Linked DNA regions of Homo sapiens: region 2 is linked to region 1. The links are contacts of gene promoters, found by promoter capture Hi-C in blood cells and fetal thymus (Javierre and others, 2016). All regions are on one chromosome and are shown on one strand. Each heading gives the region's core, a stretch centred on a gene start or on the middle of the fragment in contact. The rest is flanking DNA. Distances are from core to core; before and after follow the strand shown.

Region 1 (6,104 bases), core at 1,007-3,506:
CTCAGAGGCTTTTAAATAATCCCAACTATTTTAGCCAACTTACTGTTTATGTAACATACCGTTTTAAGTCTTTGTTTGCATTTTTAGTTAGGGACTGTACACACTTTCAGTCTAGACCCAAGCATGAGTTAGCCAAAAAACATAGAGGAATCACATGGTACGGAGCCCTGTTCAGTTTGTCCCAGCCAATGTTATTAAAAACACTATGATGGGCAAGGGACTCAACATGAAGCTACCACATATGGGACTCTAAGACATTGTCCAGACAGTCTAACAAGACAAGCAGACACGAAAGAAACAACTTCAGTGCATGTAAGATAATATAAGATACTGTGAAAGTATATAAGCAGTGACTTGGAGGGTGAGGCAACGCTTCACAGAAGAGTTGGCACCTGAACACACAGGGTTTTGAAAGATGAATAGGCCTAGGACAATTGGACACAGGATCAAAGGGCATCCAGGATTGTGCAAAACACTGGCAGAAACATCACAGATTGAAAACTGCTGGAAGAACGCATTCACCGTCAGTGAAGGAAAGCTGGTCTGGTGCACTCTCAAGCTTTCCAAGAAAAAAAACCAAGTTTTCAAATAAAAGCAGAGGAGGAAAGTTTCACCAGTGCTTGTTCTGAGAAACCTCTTAGCCTCTCTTTGCTTTGTTTTGCTCTTTCTGTTTTGCTTCCCTCTTAAAGAGTGCTGGCTTAAAACCTCAGTGAAAGAAAAGTACTTCAACTTTACTGTGGAAAAAGGAAACTGAAAAGTAGGCAAAGGCCAAGGGATACATTTTTTTAAACATTCACTCTTTCCTGGAATATACAAATGAAGCAAAATTACAAATTCATGTATTATGGGTCTGAAATATTTATTCCAATTCTTTTCTCCACCAGCTCCATAAATATTTATTCTATGCCCACTGCTTGTTAGTTTCTGGGATACCAGGCCGATGAGGCAGTCTCTTCCTCTCCTCCTTTGAGCAAGCTTGTGCTTGCAATCCTGTATAAGAAATAAGAGGAGGGCAACAACTTGTATCTTGTGCCTTCTACACATGCCAACCATAGCCTGAAGTTCACAGCAAAGTTAAATTCCAGTTAAGTAAACCAGTGAGGTCATAATACACTTAAATAACAACTGAGACGTGAGAAACTAACAGAGATCCTCAGTAAGTGTGTCGGTCACCTCTTCGCGCGAGCAGGGAGATCAGATCGAGAGCAGGACCTCCTCGCCAGTGATTTGGAATGATAAATGGGGAAGAGAAGGGGGTGAAGTTACCTGGGCGCTCAGGTAGACTTTGAGGCACTCCTCGCACACGGCCTTCTTGCAGCAAGGCAGGGGCTTGATGGGCTTGTCTTCCAGGCACACCCGGCACATCAGCACCATGAGGGGCACATAGGGATCCCCTACACCGCCCAGGCCAGAGTAGGGTGGAGCTCCCAACAGGCTGGGCATGGAGAACGGCTCGGGCGCCAGGTAGAACTCCAGCTCGATGCTGCCGCCGTCGGGGGAGAGGGAATCCGTTGGGAGGGACAGTCGGGGGCTGGGGAAGGAAGAGCGGGTGCTGGGAGGGTTCAACACTGGCGGAGCCCCAGGTGGCGACGCGGGCGGCGAGAGCTGCTCCGAGGCGGGGGCCTCGGGCAGGTCGCTCTCCACGCAGTACACGGAGCAGAAGACTTGTCTCTTGGCGAGGGACGGGCGCCGCTGACCCAGCACGTCCAGGACCAGTCCGTCGGCGGCCCCCACGCGGGTCCTGGGCTCCAGCTCTTCGCCGGGGGGCGCCTCCTGCTGTTCATCCCCTCCCTCTTTTCGATCCCCAGCTTCCTCCTCTTCCTCCTCCAGCTCCAACTGCAGTGGCAAGGTCTGGGGATTGAGAGGCCCGGTGAGTGCCAGTCCCGCAGGCTGCGCCGGTGCTCGGCTCTTACTCCAGCCCGGGGGCCCCAGGCTCCTCGCGGGCTCTGGGGCGCTGGTGTCCGCGCAGCCCCAGTCGCTTCCGCAGCCACCGCCGCTCGGCTCCGCGGAGGCGGCGCGCAGCGGGGGCGCCCGGGCGCTGTCCCCCTGAGGCCTCGGGGGCTCAGGGTGGCCCGCAGTGCCACTGGCCAGGGTCTGCGACTCCTGGGGCCCGCCGCCGCCGCTCACCGTGCTCTGCTCCTCGCCCATCGCCGCCCGCGGCCCGCGCCGCCGCTGCCCATCCAGCCGCCGGGACCCCCACCCGGCGCCCGCGGGCAGCGGGGGCAGTGGCTCGGCTCGACTCGCGGCTCCGCTTCTGCTTCCGGGTCCTTCCTCCTGGGCTGGGACGCCCCAAGTCCCCTCCGGGGAGCCCGTGCTCCGAGGCTGCGGCGCGTGGGGAGCCTGGCCCGGCCCGCCGCTCCTCCTCGTACTCTGGCGCGGCGGGGCACCGCCTCGGGGGCGCCGAGGGCCGCTCGCTCTGGGCTCGGGCGCGCCCGCCCCACATGCAGCTCGGGGCGGCGCCGCAGCCCCAGCGAGCCCCAGGCGGGACAGAGGGGTCTGGGAGGAGACGGCCGTCAGTCCCGCGCCATCACCGGTCCCGGCTGCCGGACGCGCGGCCCGAGGGCGGTGGTCAAAGGGTCGAGGGGCCTGTGGCGCCGCCGCGGCGCGCACCAGGAGGTGCAGCCGGAGCGCTGGCCAGCCGCAGGGCCCCTGGGGGAGAGGCCGGAGCGGGCGACCTCCCTCTCCCCGCGCTTCACCTACAGCCCTCCTCGCCGCCCCTCACCCCACCCCTTTGGCGCACACCTCCCCACACGTACACACGCGCGCAGGCACCCGCGCACACACACACGCACACCCTGAGTGGGTGTGATCTAAGAGCTGAGATGCGCTTTCTCGCCCGGAGTTCACACTCAGCCTCAACAAAACCCTCAGAGCAGGCAGGCTCCCCTTTGGTCTCCGCATTCAGTAGAACTTCCTACAAAACTACACTCAGCTCTGGAATTAGTAAACGCTGGCTATTTAGGATGTCGAGTTCAGAGAAATAATGCTAAGGATTATGAATTCTAAATGCTGTATATTACAACTCTGTTTTTCTGCCTAGTGGAGTAGGAAGAATCTTCGAAACCCATAAATAATCGAAAAAGCACTTTCGATCTACTCCTCCAACTGGAATCCTTAGAAGAGTTGATAACTAATTTAAAATTTCTCTCTTTTTCTTCGCCTACAGTGTTCTCTTAGAAGTTTTTTTTTTTAACCCTTTTCAGCATTCCAAAATGGATAGCACAAGGTGGAAAAATGTCCTGACCTAATTAATAAACTGGATCATTAGTGGAAATCATGGGCAGTTTCATTAGCATAACCATATTTATCCTCAAAACTGTTTCCAAAACAACAATTATATGTGAGCCAGGACTTAATTATGTGTTGATCTATCTTTATTTTACAGGAAGTATTACTCACCCAGACACTGGTGTTTTAGTTCCCTAAAGCCAGTGAAAACATTTTTGGGAAGCCAGCCCTTGTTTTGTTTTTTTTCTCCTGAGAGGGAATTCAATTTACACATTCATGTAATAGCAAGGAACTGTAAAGTGTGTAGAATTTTATTTTTTAATCTCGAAGTTGTTATTGGGTTGTTCTAAAATATTTTCCAAATCAGATGCAAATGATACAAAGGTGACTAGCGATGCAAACTAAGAAAGCAGTGTAATGCCAAAGAACATTTCCATCATATATGTGTGTCTGAGGCTCAGTTGCAAGCAAAGGTATGAATTGGATGTCTAAATGCCATGTCATCTATCGGTCTGACCCAAGAATGGAAAATTCTTATTTTGAAGATTAAATGCTATTCGAGGATTCTTTTCTTTTTTATCTCAGCTAAGTGATTTCCTGGTAACTGCTGTTTTCTCCAAATGATACTTTAAGTGCTTATTGTTTTAAAGACAGAGACAAGAAACCTACTTATGTGTGCCTTTTGAGTGTGCCATCTGATGACCAAGCCACTATTCTTTCCAGAGATATAAAAGTAATCTGCATTTTCCAGGTGACAACAGGCTAAGACCAGAGTAACAATAATGGATGCCAAAAAGTATATTCCCACAGCGTCTATTGGAATAAAACCCCTCAAAGTCCTCTTATAGTTTTGGGAACCCCTCCTCACACACATTTTTCACTCGTATTCTGAGAACTTGTTCTTCCAGTGTTTACCATTTTATTCCTTATCCCTTAGGTTCCAGCTTACTGGAAGTGGCTGTCCTCTACACCAAACCCATTAGAAGTCCCTGCTGGGACTCATGATGGCCGCCCATATCTCTGCTGCTTAAAACTGCAGCCCTTTATTTTGCCATGACTTCTTCCCTACAGAATTCATTGGGCCTTTGTGAAAATAGAATAATATGTGGTTCCCTATTTCCACCCTCCAAATTGGCCCAAACTTGCCTGAATCCTTGACCCACCACCCCTGGCATTCAATCTAGTGCTCATGGGACTCCAGCAGCATGGAAGTGAATTAAATTGAAAAGTTAACATCGTGGTTCCACAATGAATTTTCTCTGAAGTGCATGAAGCACCAGTAATGATTGTTTCGATGGGATTAATTATTTAAAGAAGGATTGGTTGAAAATATTTTATTAACCAATATTTAATATTTTAGCAAAAATTCCATTTATCTGCCACAAGCTTAATATTCTCAAAACTCAAACCATCTGCTCCATCTCAGGTTGTACACAACTGTTGATACAACGTAAGTACTATCACTAATATCCTGCTCCTACCAACATAAAGCCTCAAAATGTCCTAATCTGCAGTGAACTGTGTACCTTCCCTAAAATCCAGACTTCAATATCAGAAAACTATGTCAGTTTTAGAATGCTGTTTTTTCTATTATTGCCTTTCTTATCCTGGCATTAAAACATGACTTCTTTTTGGCTCCCTTCAATTTTTTTAAATCATTTTTATTAATGCATAATATTTGAACATATTTGTGGGATATATGTGATATTTTGATATATGCATACCATGTGTGATGATCAAATAAAGGTACACAGGATATTCATCACCTTGAACAGTTATCATTTCTTTGTGTTGGAAACATTTCAAATATTCTCTTCTAGCTGTTTTAAAATATACAATATATAGCTATAGTCAGCCTACTGTGCTATTGAACACTAGAACTTAGTCCTTCTATCTAAGTATATGTTTGTATACATATAACCAACTTCTCTTCATCTGCCCCTGTGTTTCCAGCCTCTGGGAACTATCATTCTCCTTTCTACTTCCATGAGATCAACTTTTTAAACTCCCATATATCAAGAACATGTGATATTTGTCTTTCTGTGCCTGCCTTATTTCACTTAACATAATGATCTCTAGTGCCATCCATGTTGCTGTAAATGACAAAATTTCATTTTTTATGGCTAAATAGTATTTTATTGAATATACATACCATATTTTCTTTATCCATTCATCTGTTGATAGACACTTAGGTTGATTCCATATCAACCTCTTGTAAATAGTGCTATAATAAATATAGGGGTGCAGATGTCACTTTGATTTACTGATTTCCTTTCCTGCTACTGGATAAATACCCAGTAATGAGATTGCTGGATCATATGGTAGTTATATTTTTAGTTTTTTGAGAAACTTCCAGACTATTTTCTATAATGACTATACATATTTATGTTCCCATCAAGAGTGTATAAAATTTCCCTCTTCTATGCATCCTGGCCACCTTTTGTTATTTTTTGTCTTTTTGATAATAGTCATTCTAACTGTGGTAAGATGATGTCTCATTGTGGTTTTGATCTGCATTTCTCTGGTGATTGATGATGCTGGGCATTTTTTAAATAAACTTGTTAGCCATTTGTATGACTTCTTTTGAGAAAGAAAGTCTATATAAAAGAAAGTCTTTTGAGTTGATTTTTGTGATCAACTGTGTGAGTGATAGGTGTCTAGTTTCATTCTTATGCATAGGGATTTCCAGTTTTCTCGGCATCATTTATTGAAGAGAATGTCTTTTCCCCAATGTTTATTCTTGGCACCTTTGTTGGAAATTAGTTGGCCATAAATATGTGGACTTAATAATATTTCTGGATTCTCTATTTTGTTTCATTGGTCTATGAGTCTGTCTGTTTTTATACAGACTTTCTTTTATACAGACAAGAAATGTC
Region 2 (6,104 bases), core at 1,282-3,781, 110 kb before region 1:
TTTAGGAATAAAAAGTTTTTGAAGTTCCTAACTCCAAATTATGTGCAGTATTTCAGTTTTAGGGATTAAATAACTAAAATATAAAACTGCAATTTAATGGAACAATATGAATTTCAAAAGAACTCATGAGGCTGCTTGTGAACTAATAACGGCCATTAATCATAGTAATCACAAAAATGTCACTTAAAAGATAACACCTCTCTCTCCCCCTTCCTCCCATCCCTATCTATCTATCTATCTATCTATCTATCTATCTATCTATCTATCTATCTATCTACCTATCTTCTGTCTACCGACCTACCTAACTGGAGAGTTTCTTGGTGACTGTGATCATTTTGAAGAAGTAATAATTAAGTGGAACACAGCATATTACAGGCGGGCACTTCATACATGGGGAAATGAAGGGACCAAGAAAGAAAAGTTTGTCAATTGGCTGGCAGGACTTTATGTATTCAAAATCGTTAGGTGAACTGGGAGGTGAAATGTCCATTCCTTTCCAGTGGGTGACTGACACTTGGCAGGTAAGCTTCTGCCTTACAGAGAGGTTGGAAAGAACATGAGCTTTGACTTCACAAAGCCCTGTGTTTGAATTCTAGCTCCACTAGCTGTTTAAAAAGAAGTTACTTTACCTCTCCCAAGTGTCAAGTTAGATAATATTCCCTACCAACCAGTGTAAAATGTGATAACCTATGCACAGTGCCAAACTCGTTTTGGCACATATGGAGTCAGGTCAATATAAAGTTGTTTCCCATCTACTTATTCCCCTTTACCCACCTAAAAATGCCAGAAATCAAATACCCGGGTAATTTAACTGCAAGTTCCTGGACTGCCAGGCAGTCCCCTTTCTTACTTCTTCATATGGGCAATTCTTAGGCTGATGCTGGACTAGAGAGTGCTTTCCTAGATAGGCAAGTGTGTGGTCAAGGGCATATAAGCACCTAGGGTCGAGAGTTACCAACAAATCATGATTTGGGCAAGAAAAGCAAAACTCATGTTTCTTGCTATGGGTTGCCTTATCTAACTTTTTTAGTCATAGTGATTTTTTTCCTTTTACATGACAGACCAGTAGCAGTGGATCCAGGTTTTGCAAGGCCTGTAGATTGTTTAATTTGAGAATCCTTCTTTAAGCAAAATAATCCAACTTACAAAGACAAATTAGATACAAGGCCTAAGAAGGGGCCTGTGCAGGTGAAGGTCTTTGAAGCTTAAGCCCTTTAGCTTTCTGTGAGTCAGCTCCTAGTCCAGCACTTACCCTCTGTTGTTCATGTTTATCAATGGTTACTGTAGCCACATCCATTTAGCACAGTAAATGGCATTAGGAATACCACAGGCCAACAGCCCTACTGGACCTCTGAATCATTTCTGATCCTTATTTAAACCACATGAGCACTAGGACATATTTGAAGACAACTGCCGAAAACCCAAAGCATCGTACATTCAACTTTTTGACTATATATTGTGTTTGATCTTAAAGTGGAGATAATACGACTTAACAAATTTCCTGATTTGACACTGATAGCAGTGTCGTGGGTGATCTACCAAGGAAAGAGCGCTAATTTTTGCGTAGAGCCTATTATGTGCCAAGCATTGTACACAGATTAGCACTTTTAAGCCTTATAACTGCACCATGAGATTGGCATTCTTCTTCATAAACAGAGTTCAGAAAAGTAATCTGCCTGAGTGATAATCCTCGTGAGTGAGAAAGATTTTGAATCCATGTGTTTCTTTATTATGCTAAGTAGCCTCTTATGATGAACTTAAAAGGTAACACCAGAAGATCAATCATATTATTTGCCAACCAGTCAGACAAACATGTCAGCTCTCCCTCCACAAGGTATATCTGTGTCTTCTTGTTTTTGCCATTCTGTGCCATTCTTCCTTCAAATGGCATCACTTTTCCTGACAGAAAAACTTGTTCTAATAAGTTTTGCCTCATATTTCACATATAATTTTCACTGTAATTTTATATCTGTTTGTAATATTGCTTCATTGGGTTCTAAAATCTTTATGTGGCCTATTTATTATTTCATTTAAATAAGTTTGCACTTTCTAGCCTTTCTCTTTTAACAGTCTTTCCTTATTAGTATTATTATATTCCAAATGCAGCAGGCAACTAAAATACCGTTGGTCAAATAATATTTCTGTACAGGAAGTGGTAAAATTGTAAGCTCTATAGTAACCTTGTACATTTTGGGATTATATGGCTCTATAGATTAATTTGAGTATTTTATACACATAATCACGGAAAAAATTGTTTCATCATTTACCAACTGTCAAGTACACAGTGCTGCCTTTAATATTATTATGAATATATCTTGATTATATATGAATATTTTATTTGACACTAACAGAGAAATAAACTAGCAAAATGCAATCTGCAACAGGAGACATTATTTTTCACATTTGCTAAGCAAGTTGTAATTTTAAACTCGTACTACCAGGGGATAATACATTTCTTATGCTGATGAATTCCCCAAGTACACCTTTATCAGTCTCACTTTAACAGTGTCATCTTTGTTTTTAAAACACAAAGCCTTAAAACATAGGTTTAAATTATATTTACAGAAAGTTCATTTTGTTCTCAATGAAGCTGTTTTTATTTTTTATTATAGCTCCAAAAATATTCATGAGTTTAGCTCTGCTAAAAAATAAACTAACTGCCCAAGTGGCTAAAATTTAGTATCAAAATTCTCTTTTTACTTAAAAGATGGAGAAAGACTAGATAATCCTAATCCATTAGATAAAACTGGCCACTCATAAATCATGAATGACATTTGAATTGTTAGTACTCATAGTTTCTTCTATCTATAACAAATAAGGATGACTGACATTTAAGGAATTGAATATTTAGGCACCAAGCATTACTTATATCTTTCTATACTTAAGGTCATAAGATGAAATGTTCAGAATAAGCTAGATATTCCCTTATAAGAGTTTGATATTAAGTCCACATTGTAGTAGATGGAAATGACACAAGGAGCCATTTTTGTGCCTAGGATATTCTTCACAGGATGGATTAAAACCTGTAATAAGATATACACACACACACACACACACACACACACACACACACACACACACACACACACATATGTAGGCAGATGCTCCAAGTTGAAAATATCATAGGTTGAAAATGGGCAATTTGTAGACATGGGATGTGAAAAAACAAAACACAATATCCAAAAAATGCTGGCAACCCAGTCCACTGTGAGTATCAGTTGTTCACCCTCGTGATGGCACGGGTGACTGCCAGCTGCACAGCTCGCTGCCACTGCCCAGCTTACTTTGAGCCTGGGAAAAGATCGAAATTCAAAATTTGAAATATGGTTTCTACCAAACGCATGTTACTTTCACATCATGGAAAAGTTGAAAAATCGTAAGAAAAGTCGAAATCATGTCAGACCATCCTAACTTGGGAACCATCTGCATGAAGAAAATAGTACCTGTCCTCCTCAAGTTGTTTACATTTAATTCAATAAAATGCCCACAAAGTATCTAAAAAAAAGAACTGGAATGTGGCCTTTTATTTTCAAACAAGGTTCTACCTAATCATAAGGTAGAAGAATAACAGTAAATGAACTGCTAAACCTACAATGTTTTATGACTAAATCAGTATACATCTGCCCACAAGTATTTGTCTCCAGTTTCACCAAGAAATGAAGGCTTACTTTATTGTTTAAGCAGCATTTGATAACTAAGTTGACTGTTATGTATTACTGCCCCCAACAAATATTTTACTCTAGATAAAATCCTAACCTCTAATTCATTTTTGAAAGTATTTTTATATATGTGTTTCCTTCAATGACTTTTGATACCTGGAAGAATTAATTAGAAACAAAAGTTACAAGGAAAGCTTTAAAAAAATTTCCTGAAACTCAAACAAATCCCATAAAAAAGTGGACAAAGGACATGAATAGACATTTCTCAAAAGAAGAGATACCAACAGTCAACAAACATATGAAAAAATGCTCAGCATCACTAATTATCAGGGAAATGCAAATTAAAAACACAATGAGATACCACCTTACTCCTACAAGAATGGCCATAATTAAAAAGTCAAAAAACAATAGATGTTGGTGTGAATGTGGTGAAAAGAAAACACTTTTATGTTTGTGGAACTGCAAGTTAGTACAATCACTATGGAAAACAGATTCCTTGAAGAACTAAAAGTAAAGCTATCATTTGATCCAGCAATCCTGCTGCTGAATATCTATCCAAAAGGACAGACATCATTATATGAAAAATACATGTGCACGCACATGTTTATAGCAGCACAATTCACAACTGCAAAGATGTGGAACCAATCTAAGTACCCAACAATCAATGAGTGGATAAAGAAAACATGCTATATATACACCATGGAATACTACTGAAGAGCATAAAAGAAATGAAATAATGTCTTTTGCAGAAACTTGGATGGAGCTGGAGGCCATTACTCTAAGTGAAGTAACTCAGGAATGGAAAACCAAATGTTGTATGGTCTCAATTATAAGTGGGAGCTAAGCTATGGGGATGCAAAGGTATAAAGATGATCTCATGAAGTTTGGGGACTAGGAATAGGAGGTAAGAGTGGGAAAGGGATGAGGCATAATGTAATGGGTACAGTGTACACTGCTCGGATAATGGGTGCACTATAATCTCAGAAATCACCACTAAAGAATTTACCCATGTAACCAAAAACCAACGGTACCCCAAAAACTATTGAAATAAAAAAAATCCCCTGAGATTTCACACCAGTCAGAATGGGTATTATTAAAAAGTCAAAAAACAACAGATGCTGGTGAGGCTGCAAAGAAAAGGGAATGCTTATACACTATTGCTGGGAATGTGGATTAGTTCAATCACTGTGGAAAGCAGTTTGGAGATTTCTCAAAGAACTTAGAACTACAGTTGGACCCAGGAGTCCTATTACTGGGGATATACCCAAAAGAAAATAGTTCATGAAAAAGATGCACTTGCATTTTCATTGCAGCACTATTCACAATAGCAAACAAACTGAATCAACCTAGGTGCCCATCAACAGTGGACTGGATAAAGAAAATGTGGTATATATAGATCATGGAATACTACTGAGCCATAAAGAAGAATGAAATCACATCCTTTGCAGCAATATGAATGCAGCTGAATTCAAGTAAGTAAAATGAATCCTCAACTGCCATGTCAGGGAGTCAATAGAAAATATCAAGGACTAGGTGTAAAAGACTACTATTTAGAGGTAATTATCAGGTGTAAAACTCCAAATGAATAAGAAACAGCTGCTTCTATCACAGTAGACTATGCTGCAAAAATAAATAGATGCTGATTTCAAAATTATTTGGTGTCTCTTGCTATAATGTTAGCTTTTTAAGGCCAACACTCTGATAGCAATAATTGTCTCCAATGTACTGAGTTCTTTTTTTGTTACAGAAAATTTCATGTTTCAAGTTAAGTCTTATGATTAATTTATAATGACAAGAATTCATTAAAGTGTAGTATACTGTCCAAATCTTATTCCTCAGGGTAGAGCCGTACAATAAATGAGCCTAGTTTTCTTCCTTCTTCTTTACCACACCACTTCCCTTGATCCCACTGCCCCATGTTCTCAGAAATCTTCAGATGCCAGTTTTCCCCTCCTTCAGCTTCATCTTCACCTCTCCTCTCTGTGATTATACATGTCATCCTACTAAATCCTTCCTTTCATTCCACCTGGCCCTCTACCCAATGATTACCTTCACCTTTTCATATTTACCAAATTTTTCCAAAGAATACTACTCATTGTTCTTACTTGCATCTCAATTCCTCCTAAGCTGACTGCAATCCCATGTTCTTGAAACATCTAGCTGTCTTTCATTCATTTTTTCATTCAACAAATAATTACTTTGTTCATTGATAAAATCTGACAGGGCTCCTGCCTTTAAAGAGCTTATACATGTATACAGACATTAACCAACTGTATAAACAAATATATATGCATAAGCTATGCCAAATGCATGAAAAAATATTTTCTCACTGATAAAGTCTGACATGGCTCCTGCCCTTAAGGAGCTTATAGGTGTAGACAGAGAGTAATCAATTGTACTAACAAATATATATTCATAAGCTATGCCAAATGCTGTGAAGGAAAA

The links. The method cuts DNA at HindIII sites, captures the fragments that hold promoters and counts their contacts. A CHiCAGO score of 5 or more calls a contact.
Region 2: a fragment that was not itself captured here is called in contact with the fragment with the promoter of RNF217 in region 1 in 2 of 17 cell types (megakaryocytes and M2 macrophages); the score reaches 5.1 in megakaryocytes.

Annotation. Positions count from the first base shown.
Region 1 is chr6:124,958,589-124,964,692 of GRCh38, reverse strand. RNF217 (ring finger protein 217) reads right to left here and starts at 2,256. Exons shown (of 6, transcript NM_001286398.3): 1 at 1,267-2,256. The coding sequence starts at 2,148. RNF217-AS1 (RNF217 antisense RNA 1) reads left to right here and starts at 1,666. Exons shown (of 7, transcript NR_026876.1): 1 at 1,666-1,870. The HindIII fragment of the contact is 3,639 bases long and covers 978-4,616 here.
Region 2 is chr6:125,068,471-125,074,574 of GRCh38, reverse strand. The region is part of intron 3 of RNF217 (ring finger protein 217); the gene reads right to left. Among named protein-coding and RNA genes, the nearest start is that of TPD52L1, 82 kb to the left of the region's middle. The HindIII fragment of the contact is 2,649 bases long and covers 1,207-3,855 here.